Regions from separate parts of the Homo sapiens genome. Here region 1 is linked to region 2. The links are contacts of gene promoters, found by promoter capture Hi-C in human tissues and cell types (Jung and others, 2019). All regions are on one chromosome and are shown on one strand. The core of a region is centred on a gene start or on the middle of the fragment in contact, and the rest is flanking DNA. Distances in the headings are between cores, read along the strand shown. Region 1 has its middle 360 kb from the start of PRR16. Region 2 holds the start of FAM170A (family with sequence similarity 170 member A).

Evidence for each region. The method cuts DNA at HindIII sites, captures the fragments that hold promoters and counts their contacts. A contact is called where the count stands out against the background at its distance.
Region 1: a contact is called between a fragment that was not itself captured here and the fragment with the promoter of FAM170A in region 2, in 1 of the 25 tissues and cell types used here (dorsolateral prefrontal cortex).

What each region holds. Positions count from the first base shown.
Region 1 is chr5:120,098,122-120,100,821 of GRCh38, forward strand. No RefSeq gene overlaps it. Among named protein-coding and RNA genes, the nearest start is that of PRR16, 360 kb to the right of the region's middle. The HindIII fragment of the contact is 4,575 bases long and covers 1-2,700 here.
Region 2 is chr5:119,628,202-119,630,901 of GRCh38, forward strand. It overlaps FAM170A (family with sequence similarity 170 member A), which reads left to right and starts at 1,357. Exons shown (of 5, transcript NM_001367956.1): 1 at 1,357-1,637. The coding sequence starts at 1,568. The HindIII fragment of the contact is 14,754 bases long and covers 1-2,700 here.

The DNA.
Region 1 (2,700 bases), core at 106-2,605, 470 kb after region 2:
CATTAAAACTGCTTTTGCACACTGCCTTTGCCAGAGAGAGAAGCCAAAGGGGTTTGTTAGGAGTATAAGAAGGAGGTTTAAAAGTATTCAATAGAAATTAAATGAGAGGCACATTAGACAATTTTAAGTAATCTCATGTGGATATGAGCAAATTAAAGCAATTAAACAATCTGGTGGTGCATAGTGAAAGCCAAGTAGGATCTCCATTTCTTTCTAATGTTTAAAAATAACTTCACATTGAATGGTGGTTTATGTCCTCCAAGTTTACATTTACACAAATATTAGAGAGTTTCTCACCATCAATGCTCTGGTTGATGCCCTTCCTCCGTATGTTCTCCAGCACTGCCCCTTATAACTTATCCCCTTCATCCATTCCGCACACCACTTCCAGGTTAATTTTGCCTTTCTGAACATCTGGCAGATTTTATTGGCTGTCTATCTGGTAGCCGTTACCTCTTTTTCTTTGCTAATACCACAATTGAGTTAGAACTGCAAAACGCCCAATGCAGAGTCTTAAATCATGATTGGTCTCCTGTGACAATGGCAACCTAGTCTCTCTTGTGACATATGACCTAGTTTTGGCCATAGAGATGTAGTCAAATTTGTGCTGAGTACTTTTGGAATACATTTTTCTCACTGAGAAAGCTGCATGAGGAGGAATTTATTGTGTGGATGTATGAGAATATGAAGCCATAGGAAAAATGTCAACATACTGAGGGTGGTTGAGTAGAAAAATGCTAAAAGCTTAACACTTGGAAATGCTTAGTTCTGGACTTCTTAAGAAAATAATAAATACTTTATGGCATAAGCCACTATTAATTGGCTTTTTTGTGATTGGTTGCAAATACATTCTATATATACATTCTGTCTCCCTGTTTAGCATTTATTTTCCCTTCTTCTCATAACAGTAACTTGATATTCCTTTGAAACCATTCCTCCACTGTCTTCAGCTCACATACAGATGACATATACTTAAGCCAGTCTACACACTCCACGCTCCCCAGCCCTTCATCCAGCCGTAATGATTGCTTCACAGATAAACATATAACTTAGCTGAGACAAATAAGAATCAGGTCCAGAATGCTAGTTAGAACTTTTGGGGAAGAGATTTTTGTTTTGTTTTCTTTTGGAATTTAATCAAAGAAGACATAAGCTGGGAGCTATCACAAGTGAACATTCTATCCACAAGGGAAGCCTAAAAAGAGGAAGGTAGAACTGTGGTAGATACGAGATTCTTATAACAATCTTTGAGACTGCAGCCTGTGGTACTGTGGAATCTTTTGTAGTTTAGTCGATACCTTTTTAAAAAAGTTAAACTTAAGTCATACTGAATTAAAAGGAATCTATCTTCCCTCTGGCACTTAATTCGTTTGTCACTTTTCACATATTGAATTAAAGGATAGCTATCTGGGAATATCTCATTTATTTTGCTAATGTGTAAGCTTCCTAGGTATAAACCTGATATTTCACTCAGCACAATTTTCTGCTTTTATTTAGTAGACACACCATAAATATCTGTGGAATTGATATAAAACTCAAAAATTCTGTATATATTGGGATGACAGCCAATGTGAGATTTTCTAAGAATTTTCTTAGAATCGTAGTGTCATATTCTGAAAGTGCAATTCTCCCTTGTCAAATATCTGTGCTTCATAACTGCTCAGGGAATTTCATGTACAACTTTCTCCCTTCTTACCTATAATTTATCCTAAATTGTATTTTTTTAATTGAAAAACCTAACAATTTATTCTATGTTATGACTGGTCTGCAACTTTAAACTGCTCAAATTCTCAGTTTTTCATTTTTGTCATTGTGTATTCTCACTCTCTCTTCTCTCTTTCTCCTTCTCTTTTCTCTCTTTCCCTCTATAGCCACTGCTCCTTCTCTTTTCTCTCTTTCCCTCTATAGCCACTGCTCCTTCTCTTTTCTCTCTTTCCCTCTATAGCCACTGCTTTGCTTAGGAATCTCGTAAGTCTTATAACCCAAACCCCTACCCTTCCCAGCATCTACTAATAACTGTTTTAGCCCCTACTTCTGTGAGATCAACTATTTTAACTTTCACAAATAAGTGAGAACATATAGTATTTATGTTTCAATGCCTGGTTTATTTCACTTAACATAGTGTTCTCCAAGCTCATCCATGTTGCTGAGAATGACAAGTTTTTTTTTAATCACTAAATTGTATTCTATTGTTAATATATGTCACCTTTTCTTTATTCATCTGTTGATGTATACTTAGGCTGATTCCACATCTTAACTATTGTGAATAGTGCTTCAATAAACATAGAAGTGCAGATATTTCTTTGACATATTGATTTTCTTTGTTTTGGATTTATTCCCAGTATTGGGATTGCTGGATCATATAGTAGTTAAATTTTTAGTTTTTTTTTTAAAGGAACTTTCGTACTGTTTTCCATAATAGCTGCGCTAATGTACATTTCCACCAACAGTCTTCAAGAATTCCCCTTTCCATTCTCAACAGTATTTGTTATTTTTTGTCTTTTTGTTAGCCATTCTAACTAGCATGAGATGATACCTCATTGTAGTTTTGATTTGCATTCCTGATGATTAGTGATGCTGAGCATTTTTATTCACATACCTATTGACCATTTGTATGTCTTCTTTTGAAAAATGTGTATTCAGTTCATTGTCCCATTATAAAATTGAATTATTTGGGTTTTATTTTGATATTGAGTTGTT
Region 2 (2,700 bases), core at 107-2,606:
TGCAGTGATTTCTGGGAGTCCCCCTCATACTTGTCAACTAATAGTCCCACTGGACTGGGGCCACTGCCCCAAATAAGGTGTCTCTAATTTTAGATTGGAATCAGGAAGATCCAGATGGGTTGCCACTTATAACTGGTATACATTTCAGCCCATGAGCAGAGATGTGCAGGAAATAGTATGCAATTTTCTTATGTAACTCCATTTAATTTGTAATTTAAGCCTTGGTTCTGTTGATGTCCTCTTTGGATTTCCACCCCTCCCTATTTGGAAATCATACAGGGCTGAGGTTTTGAGGGTGGGGTGAGAGCATAGTCTCTGGTTATTGGAGCATACAGCTGAAGTTTAGATGCCCATCAGCTCAGCTGCCAGGGAGTCTTTAGGTGGTGTGGCTCCTATGCCATGTGTGAGATAGGTCGCCATGATTCTGCCTGTACGCATAATACAGGCAGCCCTTCTTGAAGTTTTTGCCACATGTACCTCTTCAGCCACATTTTAGAGGGCTCCTCTCCTCCATAGTTTGAAGATCCCTCTCTCTCTCTGACCTAATCAGTACCTCTCAACACTATAGTAGAGCAAGAAGGGGGCATGCCTAGTTAAAAAAAATCCTGCTTCCGTTATGTTTCTGCTAACTTTCCTCTTTCCTACAGAGTTTGAGATTTTAGAAATAAAAGTCAGGTGGGGTGTGGTGGCTCATGCCTACAATCCTAGCACTTTGGGAGCCTGAGGCAGGAGGATAGCTTGAGGCTAGGAGTTCAAGACCAACCTGGGCAACATACTGAGACCCTGTTTCTCAAAAAAAAAAAAAAAAAAAAAAATTAGCCGGGTGTGGTGCCTCGTGTCTGGTGCCTGTTGTCCCAGCTACTCGGGAGGCTGAAGTGTGATGATCACTTGAGCCTAGGGGCTGAAGTGACCCTATGATCACACCACTGCAATCCAGCCTGGGCAACAGAGAGAGACCCTGTCTCTGAACAAACAAAACAAAATAAAAACAACAAAAAAAAAAAAAAGAAAGAAAAGTCAAGATGATTAACATGCTATTGCTGCTTTCAGCCCTGCCATACCCCTCCTCTGAGCAATGAACACAAAGCCTGCTACCTGCTTGAGTCCAGAAGGGAAAGGGTGAAAAAAAAAGAAGAAAAGAAAAAAATTAAACAGAACATGTTAACATCTCAAAATATTCTGCCACATTTGAAATACGGGAGAGTTGAATTCATTAGAGGACTTCTATTGGAAAAAAGGAATTGTTTTTGAAAATGATGTCTCTGCAGTTGCACAGACTGTGTTGGACCTAGGTCCGTAGAACGCCGTGATGTCATCATTGATGTCAGAGAATCTGCGATGGGCCTGGTGACCTTTGAACCTTAACAGCCCTGCAGTGTAGTGGGCACTGGGCAGTGCTGCTCCTTCACTAAGCGGTCTGAGTTCTTTAGCTATCTCGGAGATTCAACTACGTTTACTCGTACTGAATCTTTTTAATGAATTTCCTGAGAGCCAAGAAGGGCCAATCTACAGGAAAAAGTGGGAGGTGGACATTAAGCATCTTCTAGAAACTCTTCTAGCTGATATCATGAAACGACGACAAAAGAGGAAACATTTGGAAAATGAAGAGTCCCAGGAAACCGCTGAGAAGGGAGGAGGTATGTGCGGGGCAAACTTTCTGGGGCACAAGCGTCACTGGCCAGCCTGAGCCGCCTTCTTTTTCTTTTTTGAGACGGAGTCTCGCTCTATCGCCCAGGCTGGAGTGCAGTGGCGCGATCTTGGCTCACTGAAAGCTCTGCCTCTCGGGTTCACGCCATTCTCCTGCCTCAGCCTCCCGAGTAGCTGGGACTACAGGTGCCCACCACCACGCCCGGCTAATTTTTTGTATTTTTAGTAGAGACGGGGTTTCACCGTGTTAGCCAGGATGGTCTCGATCTCCTGACCTCCTGATCCGCCTGCCTCGGCCTCCTTTTTTTTTTTTTTTTCGTTTCTGAGACAGAGTCTTGCTCTGTCGCCCAGGCTGGAGTGCAGTGGTGTGAGCTCGGCTCACTGCAAGCTCCGCCTCCCAGGTTCACGCCATTCACCTGCCTCAGCCTCCCGAGTAGCTGGGACTATAGGCGCCCGCCACCACGCCTGGCTAATTTTTTTTTTTTTTTTTTTTTTTGTATTTGTAGTAGAGACAGGGTTTCACCGTGTTAGCCAGGATGGTTTCGATCTCCTGACCTCATGATCCACCTGCCTCGGCCTCCCAAAGTGCTGGGATTATAGGCGTGAGCCATCGCTCCCGGCCAGCCTGAGCCTTCTTTAGGGAGGAGAAACTGAGGAGAATGTACCACCTATGCAGTAGGGAGGGGAAGACCTGGCTGTTGGCTGATGCCCGCACATCCATCTTGAGGGTACCCAGATGTGAGACGGACAGGAAGTTCAGATGCCACTGGCACACAGAAAGCCAACCCTGCTGGGCTGAGAACTTTTGCTCTGGGGCTGCTGGTACCTGGAACTATGCCAGTCTCAGGCAGGCGGGGGACCCACTTACAAAGACCCAGTGATGCAGCCTGAGTCTCATCTTTCTCTCGTATTCTCTTTATTTGCTCTTTCTCTGGGGTGACTGAGGTGGAAGGTGTGAAGGGTGCTGGTAGAAGTCTATGATTTGCACTACACCTTTTAGCAGAAACGAGAGTAGCCCAATGAGTTAAAGGCCTTGTTGAAAAATATCTTGAG